Regions from separate parts of the Homo sapiens genome. Here region 2 is linked to region 1. The links are contacts of gene promoters, found by promoter capture Hi-C in blood cells and fetal thymus (Javierre and others, 2016). All regions are on one chromosome and are shown on one strand. Each heading gives the region's core, a stretch centred on a gene start or on the middle of the fragment in contact. The rest is flanking DNA. Distances are from core to core; before and after follow the strand shown. Region 1 holds the start of PSAT1 (phosphoserine aminotransferase 1). Region 2 holds the start of TLE1 (TLE family member 1, transcriptional corepressor).

What was found. The method cuts DNA at HindIII sites, captures the fragments that hold promoters and counts their contacts. A CHiCAGO score of 5 or more calls a contact.
Region 2: a contact is called between the fragment with the promoter of TLE1 here and the fragment with the promoter of PSAT1 in region 1, in 1 of 17 cell types (fetal thymus). The highest score is 6.2, in fetal thymus.

What each region holds. Positions count from the first base shown.
Region 1 is chr9:78,294,001-78,300,153 of GRCh38, forward strand. It overlaps PSAT1 (phosphoserine aminotransferase 1), which reads left to right and starts at 3,125. Exons shown (of 9, transcript NM_058179.4): 1 at 3,125-3,270. The coding sequence starts at 3,211. RefSeq lists enhancers at 2,211-2,480, 2,371-2,954, 2,955-3,538 and a silencer at 3,491-3,730. The HindIII fragment of the contact is 4,911 bases long and covers 1-4,801 here.
Region 2 is chr9:81,685,950-81,692,102 of GRCh38, forward strand. It overlaps TLE1 (TLE family member 1, transcriptional corepressor), which reads right to left and starts at 3,598. Exons shown (of 20, transcript NM_005077.5): 1 at 2,268-3,598; 2 at 1,385-1,485. The coding sequence starts at 2,291. It overlaps TLE1-DT (TLE1 divergent transcript), which reads left to right and starts at 3,764. Exons shown (of 4, transcript NR_109772.1): 1 at 3,764-4,010. RefSeq lists an enhancer at 2,909-3,623 and silencers at 3,496-3,845, 3,996-4,145. The HindIII fragment of the contact is 8,493 bases long and covers 82-6,153 here.

The DNA of each region.
Region 1 (6,153 bases), core at 1,875-4,374:
CTCACTCTGTCTCCCAGGCTAGAGTGCAGTGGCGCGATCTTGGCTCACTGCAAGCTCCGCCTCCCGGGTTCATGCCATTCTCCTGCCTCAGCCTCCCAAGTAGCTGGGACTACAGGCGCCCGCCACCATGCCCAGCTAATTTTTTGTATTTTTAGTAGAGACAGGGTTTCACCGTGTTAGCCAGGATGGTCTCGATCTCCTGACCTCATGATCTGCCTGCTTCCGCCTCCCAAAGTGCTAGGATTACAGGCGTGAGCCACCGTGCCCGGCCTGGACTGTCTTTATAGATCAGTGCAAAATAGGCAAGAAGGACAAAATAATATTTTGAGATTAAATTATGTTTCCTCCTTTGCTGCTGCTTTATTCAAGCACTTAGCTGAGGGTGTTCCTTGTTGAACTGGAGGAAATTTGGGGGCAGAACACTATAAACAGTCCTTCAGAGAGCTTGTTACCTGTAGGCTCAATAAGGCCTCAGATAAGCTGGAGTTTGCCCCTCAAAATATTGATCTGTACAGTGTTTTGCTGAAATTTACATTTGTAGATGTTTAAAAATGAGATGTCACATAAAAATCTGGGTTCCTGGGTTTTCTTTCAAAACGTGAAGACAGCTCAAGCAACTTCATTTGCCTGCTTGGCAACAACCAGCTGGATCTGAACTTCAGCTGTTGCATTTAGGATGGCATAATAATCAGGATAATGTGAGCTGCTGTAACAAATCGCCTCTCATATTTCAGTGACATAGCACAAAAGAAGCTGATTTCTCACTTACATATGACAAGTCTGGTGCAGGTGATTCAGGGACCTGGGGCTCCCTCTTTGCTGTGTCTCCACTGTCCTTAGGGGCCAGGGAGTTTTTTGTTTTCAGCCTGTGGAATGGGAAAAAGGAAGTGGAGAAGCACACCCATTTCTCAACCACCCTGGCCTGAAAGTGACACACATCCACTTGGCCCACATTCCACTGGGGGGACCCAGTCATGTGGCTCACCTAGATGCAAAGGGAGCTGGGAAACATGAAGCCGGTTTGAGCAGCCACTTCCTGCCATCAACCCTATCCCATGGATGGGGGAATCATAAATGTGCAGTGGCCGCGTGCACCTGTGCCACAAATGGACAGGTGAACTCAATTTGCCACAGTTCCCACTACTTGTTTCATATCCCTGAGTGGCCCCTGGAGGCATTTGAGTTTGTGGCTCTGGTTTAAGGTGTTTGTGGGCACAGTGTGAGGAAGAAACATGGAAAAGACAGATTTTCTCTAGACTGAAAAGGAGATTGCCCAGGGGCGGGAGGAAGACAAACAGAGGTCAGTGGGTCCTGAGGCTGACTGTATGTGTGACTTGTGTCCCTGAAATACCATCTTGGAAACTGCAGGACCCCCGGGAGGAATGGCTGCAGGGGATGTCTTAGCAGATGAGACAATAGCCACCGCCACCCCACCCCAAATTCCTGTGCCCCTAGTGGGATACAGAAGTAGTAGGTTGCTCATCAACCCAAGCAGCCACATCAGCTTGGGCAGTGGAAACAACTCAGCCATATCTTTTGGGAACAGAGGACCAAATGGATGTGCTGTCCCTTCTCCCAACCCACTACATGGGACTGTGTATAGCCCTGGTGTTAGGAACTAACTCCAGGAAGGATGAAGGCTGACTCCCTTAGTCTCCAGTAGATAAGCTGCTAGGGGCAGCTACTAATATATAATAACTGAGTTATTTACGTAAAATAATGGATATGTGATGCTTCTTGCATGCCTGAGTTTCTGGGCTGAGATTTATTCTGTCTTGAATGTCGCGGTTTTCTTAATGAAGTTGCTGAGGAACGCAGGGGCCTTGTTCATTTTGCCTTTTTCTGGAAACTTTGTCCTCCAATTCCCAGATCCAGAGCAGTGCCTCTGCTCTCAGCCCCATACCGCCCACATTCTCATTAGGAAAAGCAAACAAAAGCCAAAGTCCTGTCCAGTTACAAGCCTTCTCTAAACGGGGCAGTTGGACTGTATATATTCCTGGCGCATCAATTTTACTCAGACAGGGAAAATATTTTTACATTAAAAGAAACTAGGTTAAATTATGGTAGAGAATGCAAAATTCACAGTTTAAAAATGATGAAATTCCAGACTTCAAAGGAACTTCTTTCTTGCAGGGTAGGGGGAGGGTATTCTGTTTCAGAACCCCATGCGGGTCTCCACTGGAGTTCTTTTGAGAAGGACACTTCTGTGGAAAAGTTTGAGCAGCTCTGGCCCTGCGCCTGGCCTGGCTAGGGGCCACCTTCTTCTGGTTTGGGCTGCAGCGCCCTATGGGTATCGCGTTCTTGTTAATATCTCCTCACGTTTCTAAACTCACAGCTTGTCAGCGCGGGCGCAACCTGAGAGCTGTCGCAGGTTTCCAGCTCACTCGTTTCCCAAAGGAGGAAATGGAGAATCAGCGACTTTAAAGGACTTGCCTGGCGGGCATCCACGCTTCCCAGGCTATCGCTCCTCCCTGCGTCCTTGGCCACCTCCGTTCTTTAATCCTGCAGGAACTCAGGACCCACGTGCAAATACAAAGAACCGTATCCACCCACCCCCGGCCCTTCTTCATCCTGCGCTTCCAACCTTGGGGGGGTCCTCTCTCTCCACTGGGGTATCTGACGCCCGTGGGGGGTGCTTAGAAAAGTTTGGTAGATTAGTGACTGGTGGTTCTGGAACAAATACATCACAGCCCAAACTGGGGGCTGGTGGTGGAGAGGTGGGTGGATGGGGGCTACAAATCTGCTCGGCAACTGCCCTTTCAGCCAAGAGAGAGGAGCTGAGGTCCTCTGGGGTTGGAGGACTGGAACCGGCCAGATTGCGGGCTCAAGGGGCGAAGGCAGGTTGGCAGGGGCAGCCTCTTCCCGCCGCCCACAATCCTCGGGCGGGCGCGCAGCCGAGCCGGCTCGGCTGGCTGGCGCAATCTCGCGCGCTCCTTGCATTGATCAAAAATGGGGGTTGAAACAGTAAACGCGAGGAGGAGCAACTGCTTCGACTCGGCTCAGAAGCGCGACCAATGGGGATGTGAGCTCCTTCGCGCGAACCAATTAGCGCAGGGCCTGCGACAGCACGGGCCAATGGGGCGCCGACTCGGCGCAGGAACAAGGCGGGGGTTCGGGGCCGGCTGCAGACTCTCACCGCAGCGGCCAGGAACGCCAGCCGTTCACGCGTTCGGTCCTCCTTGGCTGACTCACCGCCCTGGCCGCCGCACCATGGACGCCCCCAGGCAGGTGGTCAACTTTGGGCCTGGTCCCGCCAAGCTGCCGCACTCAGTAAGTCCCCGCGAGCGGGCGCCGGGAGTGAGGTTCAGGCGGGAGCACGCACGCGGGTGGGTTTGCATCCCTGCGTGTGGCAGTCGGATTCCCGCTCCCTGCCTTGAGTCCCCTAGGCGCTTTGCATCAGCGTGCACAGCGGGATCAGCAGCTCCGGCAAGCGGGCTTCGGGAAGAATGCAGTTGGTGAGGAAGCTCGGCGAGGCGTGCCCGTGCAGCTGCCCCTGGCCCTGACTGCTGGTGCGAGGCAGTGCACGACTCAGCTGGCCGGGGCCTGCTGTCCCGCCGGTGCCACGCACCTGCAGACGCCCGGGCTGTGCCATCTCCTGGGCCGGTCCGGGGGCTGGGGCGGGGCGAAAAAGAAAAAGCTCTGATCTCTGCCTTCGCCTCGCGCAGCTGTGCGGCGAGCCCGGGCAGTGTGGAGCGGATGCATGAATGGACATAGTGTGAATGAGTGATGAACGGGAATGAACCGATGACAGGTTTTGCATATGCAGTGGATCACGTTAGCTGAAAGGGATTGCAAACTTAAAGGTCCGCGTGTGCGTGCCCCCCTACGCCTTACACCAGTGTTTGCTTTAGCCAGCACTTAGGAACACTGCTTTTCAGAAATGTAAATTTGAAAACCTTCAGTCCAGCTTTCCCCTCCTTGTCCCCCATAGAACCTACCCTTTCCTAAAGCCTTTCTCCCCACCCCCCTCCTTTTTTTAACCTGCTTGTCCCCTAAAGGCGTTCGAGTATTCTAACTCTGGTAGACTTTGGGCTGCTTAACCCAATTCCCTGTTCATTTCGTTCTGGAGTAAACCGAGTGATTGAATTCTCTCCCGGGCCACAATCAGATCTTGCTGGTGGAACTCACTCTCTGCCTTCCCAGGCCCCAGCCCGGCTCCTCCCCTCCCCCGCCAAACCCACCGTCCCCAGCCCCACCCGCAGTGAAGAAGGCAAAGTCTCCGATGTGCCTTGAGCCCATTGTCAGGCGGCTGCCGCCGCCGTTAGATTTTTATTTTTCTAACCAGGATAGAGCTGATAATATGTTGGAGCAGCATGAGGCATAGCCAAGTATTTTACAATTATCAATTGTTGAGCAGAGTAGAAATCTCCCTGGGACAGAGCCTCCTCTGTGTTGTGGTAAGAACAGAGAATCCAATTTTAAAGGGGAAAGGACTTCTTACTTTTCTAGGGGCAGCGCTCACAGTAGCTGAGAGGACAGGGCTTATTTTTTCTCAGTGGTTACAGTTCATTTTAGGCGAGATTCCCTGCTCCAGCTGTGGAGATGTTTCCTGTAGCCTCCTCCTGCACCCCCCATGTTTTGGAGTGTTCCCAACGTTTGTTCCCTATGTATTTCGTTATTAATTTATTACTATAATTGTAATGGCAATTGTCATCAGTAATACAATTATTTGTTATTAATTTTTCTGGGAGGATTTTTGCCCTTGGACTGCATGTAACCTGGGGGGCAGGAGGGTGAGGGGGCAGGCAGATGTTGCTTTTTATGTATTTCCTTGATTTAGTTGAATTGTAAATATTAGAGAAGCTTTCAAACTTCTTTTGACTGTAACCTACAGTGAAAAACATGTTTACAAAATGACAAAGTATACACATTCAATTGTAACAAAAATAAATGCCTTATGAAATGATGTGTAGCCTAATTACCTGTGACATACACTATTTTGTATTCTATCCTGCTCTAGTCTGTTCTGTTTCATTAAAAAAATTAGTCGTGAGCTGGGTGTGGTGGCGCACGCCTGTAATCCAAGCAACTCAGGAGGCTAAGGTGGGAGGATCTCTTGAGCCCAGGAGTTTGAGGCTGTAGTGAACTGTGATTGTCCCACTGCATTCCAGGCTGGGTGATAGAGCAAGACCCTGTCTCTTAACAAAAAAAAAAAAAAAAAAAAAAAAAAAATTGGTTATGATCCACAAAAGCAATGCATTCTTCAACTGGAAAAAAAAAAACCTACTGGATTAGGGAGGTGTGATTTTTCAGTAGGAGTCTTTAAAACTGTTTGTAATTATTTTGGTTATAAACTTTTATAGAACTATTTTCAATGAATGCTGTCTATAAGAAAGATACAGTCTCAGGAGCAAGTTCAAAGATTATTCACAGATGAATGTTTCTCTTTACTAAAAGAAAAGATTCACTCTATTTTATTTGATCAGCTGGTGCTAACAAGCATCCAACATTTCAGAAAACAATAACACATTCTTAGACCCAGTCGTCAAGGCAGTCTTTTTTTTAATCTAATTCTTTTTTTTTTTTTTTTTTGAGAGAAGTCAAGCTCTGTCACGAGGCTGGAGTGCAGTCGCTTGGTCTCGGCTCACTGAAACCTCCGCCTCCCGGGTTCCAGCGATTCTTCTGCCTCCGCCTCCTGAGTAACTGGGATTACAGGCACCCACCACCAAGCCCAGCTAATTTTTGTATTTTTAGTAGAGACGGGGTTTCACCATGTTGGCCAAGATGGTCTCAATCTCTTGACCTCATGATCTGCCCGCCTTGGCCTCCCAAAGTGCTGGGATTACAGGCGTGAGCCACCACGCCCGGCCTTGTCTAATTCTTTATTGTTAAAATACTGTTTTTTGAGACAAGTTGCAATCCAGTTTAGGTTATAGCTGTGTTTTAATGATGCCCTCCTTAGCAAGCATCTTAAAAAAAAAGGTGCCTCCTATCTGTAGACCTTCTCTGGCTGGTTGCTTTTGCACTTATTTTGTGTTCATTTTTAAAGCTTTTCTTTTTCTCTTTATTTTTTATTAAGGGAATCCTCACATACACAAAGATAAAAGTAGTGTAATGAACCTCCAAGGACCCATCTCTGAGACTCAACAATTATCAACATTGTGCCAGTCTTGTTGCAGCACCCTGGGACGAATCTTATTCACAGCAGGCTCT
Region 2 (6,153 bases), core at 2,348-4,847, 3.4 Mb after region 1:
ATCTGCCTCACATATTTGCACTTCAAGTAAAAACACAGACCAATTTGGAAAAGCCATAAACTATCTAGGTAAACACCCAAAAGCTTTGTCCTTGCATTTAATAGGGAAAAGGAATAATGTGAACAATACAAGGTGTCCATTCAGCTACCATTCTTCTTGGTGCCTATCTGGTTAGATGACAAGAATGAAAAAAATCTGTCAGAACCTCTAACTGATTCCTCCTCATGGTCATCTGCTCCCTACCTTCCTGCATCAGTTTGTTTCTCTGTACTCCACCAAAATCCGGCCCTTGCACAATCTTCACTCTTAGGCATAGGCTGTGCCATCTTTGCCAACTCAAACGGTCTCTAGGTTTGAAAATCCTATCTGTTAAGTTACTCCTACAATTGCTGGTCCCTTTCAAAACCTTTGGTTTTTAAATCCCTGCCAAAATATGTCAAGTAGCTACTGCAATAAAGTGGGTTGAAGTTCTCCCTGCTGGGTAAACACGGTGTGTGCAAGTATGCCTCAAGCTGCAGAGATATTATCTACAAGTAGACAAAAGGTCAATAATGAGAAAGCCCCTGACAAAGTAAGAAAATTCACACCCAAGCCACTTCGCCTCATCTGTGTGCTTTTTCTCAAGCATGACAAAAGCAAAAAATGTCAATACAGTTATTTCTGAGTTAGAATCAGGTAAAACTTCATAGGAACAAGGGAAAGAAACTAACCTTTCTGGGAAGTTCACTATTGGCAAAGTATTTTACAAAAATTTATAAGTCCTTTGAAGGTAAGTCTCATTACTTGAAGAAACTAAGGCTGAGATGGATATAAATGTGACTCCACTCTCTCATCCTACCCAAACCAATCCGAAATGACGCCAAAGCAGGTGAGCTTTCTTCTTTATACTATTATACCCACCTCCCTCACCATCACCAATGATGGGCAATGTTATAAGCATCTAGCCTTCCTTAATGGACTTTGCCTCAGAAAACCCAATTTTCTAGTATGGCAAACAGCGATTTCAACATGGCTTTGCTTCCCTGAACCCACACTCCAGGACTGAGACATCGATTGAACCAATGTTTCAGCTCAGTCTGCTGAAAAATAAATACATGAAGTGCAAATATTGACGATTCTCATGCAACTCCTAAAGACATGAAAAAGGACTCCCTGGAACAGTGCAAACCGGCAAAAGGGAAACAATGGGAGGAGGAGGAGACAAGAGAAGAGGCGGCCCGGGAAGAACCAGGAAAGGGGGTAACTTGAATGACAGGTCTTAACTGAGACTCCACACGCCACCGCCTGGACGCAAGAACTAAGTACAGGCGCCGCCGCCACCCGGCTGGGTGCAAGGGGCACCGGGACGCCCGCGACCACTCGCATGGCGCGGCCGGACACGCACCTGTGATACTGCGCCTGCAGGAACTGGAATTCCTCTTTAATCCGGTCCAGGGACTCCGGGATAGTGAACTTGAAGGGCTGGCCTGCAGCCTGGTGCGGCGTCTGGGGGCGACCAGCGAGGGGGACCGAGGGACGGGAATGCGGGCGGATGAATAAAGCAGTAAGTCAGAGAAGGCAAGAACGGGTGGGACATAAACATAAAGTTAGAAGTGGCTGAAAACGAGGCCCCAAACTCGAGTTTGCCCTTCACTATGGGGAGGGGGAAAGCGGACCCTCCCCGGGCCCCGGCTTCTAAAGAGGCTCGGAAGCTCTTCCCAGTCTCCAGGGCGGATTGCGCTAAGTGCGCCCGGGTCACCAGGCCAAAGGGAAGGGGGCTCCCCGGCGGCCAGGGAAGACCAGGCCAGATTGTCGGTGTCGCCGCCCCTTCCCCCACGGCGGCGATAATGACCCCGGGGACCAGAGGAGAAAAACAACTCCTTTACGCTCCCCATTCCCAGAGTCGCCGGGGCCACCTCCAGACGCACCGGAACCGGGGCCGCATTGACATGTAAATAGGCGAGAGGAGAAACAAAGGGGGGGGCGCCCTGCCCCCACTCGGGGAAGGTAGAGGGGATATGGCTGCAGGAGAGAAACCCCAGCCTTCCCCAGCGCCCCTGTCCGCTCGGTATAGACGTCAAGTAGGAAGGAGCCCAAAGGGAGGGAGAAAATTAAGAGTTTCGGCCCACTCCCCACCCCAGGAAGAGAGGGCCCCAGACCTCCCCAGCCTTACACCGCTGAGGGCGAGAAGGTCCGCCGGGCCTCAGAAGCCACCAGTCTCCCTACCGCCCGGGAGAAGCGCCTCCCCAACGATCCTGGCCCCCCACCACCACCCAGCCGCGCCTCACCGGGTGCCGGCTCTGCGGGAACATCGCTCTGGCGGCGGCCGGGGCTCTGTTCCCCGGCAACTCAATTCTCCGGTCAATTTCCAACTTTAATCCCGCCGAGGAAAATTAAGCCGGAAAGCCAAGCAGAAGCGGGGAGCGCGCTGGCCACGCACGCGCGCTCCGCCGGGCGCACCGGCCACTCGGCGCCCGCAGCTGCTCCGGCTCCCGCTCCCGTCGGTGCGGGCTCCGGCCCTCAGGGCCACATTAGTGGGCGCCCCAGGCCCAGCTGCTTCAAGAACCTGCGCGGAGACGTCGGGCGCTCGGGGACTGTGCGCGGGGGCAGCGCTCCAACCCCCGGCCTCAGCTGCCCGGGCGGGGAGGCGGGGGCGCGGTGACTCCGACCGCACTCCCCTCGGCGATCCGCGTGCGCGGCGCCAGTCCTGGGCAAACAAATCCAGACGGACTGCTTTTCTTTGCTCTTCTCCTGGTCCGCCTCCTCTTCGGGCTTTCCCCGAGGCGGCGGCGGGCGAGGTGCAGGTGGCGCGGCGGCCCCCGCTAACCCCACACAAACCCGACGCTTTCGGGGCGACTCCCGCAAGATTCGGCTGCGCCTTCGGCCGGGTGCTCGCAGGCTCCCGGGACGCAAAGGGGAGCGAGGTTGAAGACGCAGCGGAGGCTCCTGGCCGGGGAGCGACGGATGACGAGGCGGGGAAAGTGCGGAGGGCGCGCCGGGAGGCGGCTCGGCACGCCCCGTGCGACCAGCACTCGGTGTTCTCCGCGGTTGCACAAACCCTCCGGGCCCGACGGGGCTACTCCACCGAGAGCAGTCCCGCAAGTGCCCAATGCTCCTCGAGCCCGGGGAGCATCAGGGCGCCGCGCCTCGGGCGCACTCGCCCTGCACGGCCGGACCGGCCGCTCCGGACCCTTCTTCCGAGCTCCTTCTTCCTCGGTCTTCTTTCTTTCCTTCCTTCACCTTCGTGTGCTTCTCCGCAAAGGGCGCTCCAGCCCACTGCAAAGTTCTCTCACCACCCGAGGGACGACATCCACGAGATGGTGGGGAAAACAGCAGGAGTGCGCTCCGCCAATCGGCCACCCTCCCCGGCGGGCAAACTCTGCGGGCGAGTCCAGAGTAGTCACAGCGGTGGGGCCAGCGGGGGTTTTGGTCGCCGCGGGACGACGGAGGTCCGGGCTGGTGGCGCGGGTCCCGCCCGGCCGTGCGAGGGTGGGGTGGCGCAGTCGGCTGCCTCCGGGACGCGGGGCACAGAGTACCCGCCGCTGTTTCTGCTGCTGCTGCTTCTGCAGCCGCCGCTCCCACCGCCGCCGCCGCCCGCGCCTCTCGCGCCGCTTACATTAACACGCGGTTTCACACTCCGGAGCTAACCAGCGCCGGCCCCGCCCAGCCCCGTTCGGGCGGGGGGCGCGAGCGCGGAGCCGGCGGGGGACGTGAGCCCGGGAGGTTGGGGGGTGGGGGGGGGGCAGAAGGCCCGCATCAGCCAATCGCGTGCGCTGCAACCAACGTGGGGCGCTGACGCGCTCCTCCCCGGAGCGTATGGCAGCGCAGCGCCGGACGGGGCGTTCTCCCTCCCCCCCTCCTCTCGCTTCCATCTCCGCCGTCTCCTCGGTCTCCCTTCCCATCCCGGCCCCTCCTCCGCCAGCCGCGTCCTCCCGGGCTTGGTGAGGAACTGTTCCTGGAGGAGCCGCGGGACGCCAAAACCAGCCAATGGGAAGCGGCGATTCGCGGAGATTGGCACTGATGATGGGAAGGTCGGTGGGAAGGAGAGCGGCGGGGCTGGGCTGTCAATCAAAGTAACGTGGGGCTGGCTAGAGAGCGCGCGGGCGCGCGCTAGCGGGAGGGACTGGCGAGCGTGCAGCCGGGGAAGCTGAGGGCTCGAGTTAGCAAAAATCCTGCCACTTGCTCACTTTTCCCTTTAATGAAAATCCTCAGATCTAAGTGAAAGTAACTCAAAGACTAGCTGCGGAGTTTCTTATTGGAGGCGGAGGGGGGCTTTTGGTAATTCGAGCAAATGTGTTTTTCAGTGCTGGACCCCTTGTTTGATGCTACTCTAAAAGTGAGGCCACATTCAAAAATTTATCTGAGGTTTGTTTTTCCTTGAGCTGCCTTTTTACGGATGTACGAGAGGGAGTGGACTGTGCACTTAGTTGGAAATGCGTAAATGAGCAACGCCACGGTTGGCGTAGGTACACCAGCAAAGACGACTGTGATGTCCTCCCACCCCACCCACCCCCTTTGCACCCAAAGTGGTAGGATTTGATTTTTATTGCAGGATTTCAAGCCACTTTTCAAAAAGATCGTCCTGTCCCGTTTGGCGGGAAGGATTCCCAGGGTGCTGCCAGAACAAGGCACGCGTGTCCGCAGATGAGACGTTTTGCCCGGGGCGCGAAATCCCAGGTCTTCGTCTTAAAAGTCCTGACTTCGCTGTGTTGGGAGAGGTGGGGAGCGGCTGAGGTTTTTAGGAACTTCTCAGCTACAAGACTACGAGTCTGTTTCCAATTCCTGGGAACAAAGAGAGACAATGTAATAAACCAGCACTGAGACCTGAAAAACCTGTCCCGCACACCCCACCCCCACAGTCTGGGTGGTACTCCTGAGCTGAGCTGTGTGAAGAGCTAAATGGGAAGAGTTAGGTAAATGACGTGGCTAAGGTTCTTATGAAGTGGAACTTGAGTTAAAAGGGATTTTGAGATTGTAATAATCAAGACATGCTGTATAATTAATGCTGAGAGTCTTTGGTTTTTGTGTATGTCTCTAAATACACAGCAGAAAACCGTCAGTATTGCCGCATTTATGCTTTTGTTTGAGGAACATTTCCACATGAGCAGTGAATGAATAATGCTGGTTTAGCCAAACGGTGGTAACTTCTTCCATAAGGGCACATCTTGGACAAGTATTTATCTTATGTTGGAAACTAGTTAAGTTTTTGGTATTAATAACCCCCACGTTATTATTTTATTATTTTACCTTCAAGAGACTTACGGGAAGGAGCTTATTTAAACAGACATACATTTTATTTAAAGATGTGCTTTTACAGAGTTCTTTTTCTTGAAATAGTTTTAGAAGTCATTTTAGATAATACATTTCACTGTTGGAGTTGTTTTTAAATATGTATGATATTGATTTGTCTATAATTGCATCACTCCCAAATATCAATTATAAATGAAAAAATAAAAAAGCGATTTTAACCAGTCTGTACGAAGCCATAGTAAATTCTTAAACAAGTTGGGCATTGTAGCTTTGTGGTGTTCTCATTAAGTACAGTTGGGAAGGCGGCTGTATTATTCATTTTGCTAACATGGAGAACAAAAAAGAAGAAAGCACTGCCTCACTTTCCTTGGTTAAATTTGGTGACGATGACAGTTTTGCTCGACATACAGGACTTTTTGGAATCATAGGATCCCAGGGCCTTTAGCAACCTGTTTTCCTTGAAATTATCTAGTGATTGAGCCACATATACCAGTCTGCGGCCAGTTCATCCCATAATCAGCTCCAGGACCGGACAGAAAGTGCTTGGATGCCACAAGTATGCTTGTATACATGCTGTGACAACTGGAGCAACTGATATTCCTCCCCGGCTTACCCAGGCTTTATGTGGTGCCTGTATCTTGAATAACTGGCACACTCCCATTAAGTTTAAACAGAGCCATTAAAATATGCTTTGAGATGGGGCAAAAGTGTTGCTACTTCTCTTCTTTCCCCACCCCGCTGCCCTCAAAATCAGTACTAAGGCATCTTTAAATGTTCTCTAACATAACTACTCACAGACAATGTGTCTGCTCACCATATTTCCCAGTTTGCCATGAGTAAACACTAGAAATTCTCTTTTAACTAGTCTTTCCTTGCCAATAGAGTTTGAAACACCAGGCCTTCTGATTTCCTTATAATGAAGTA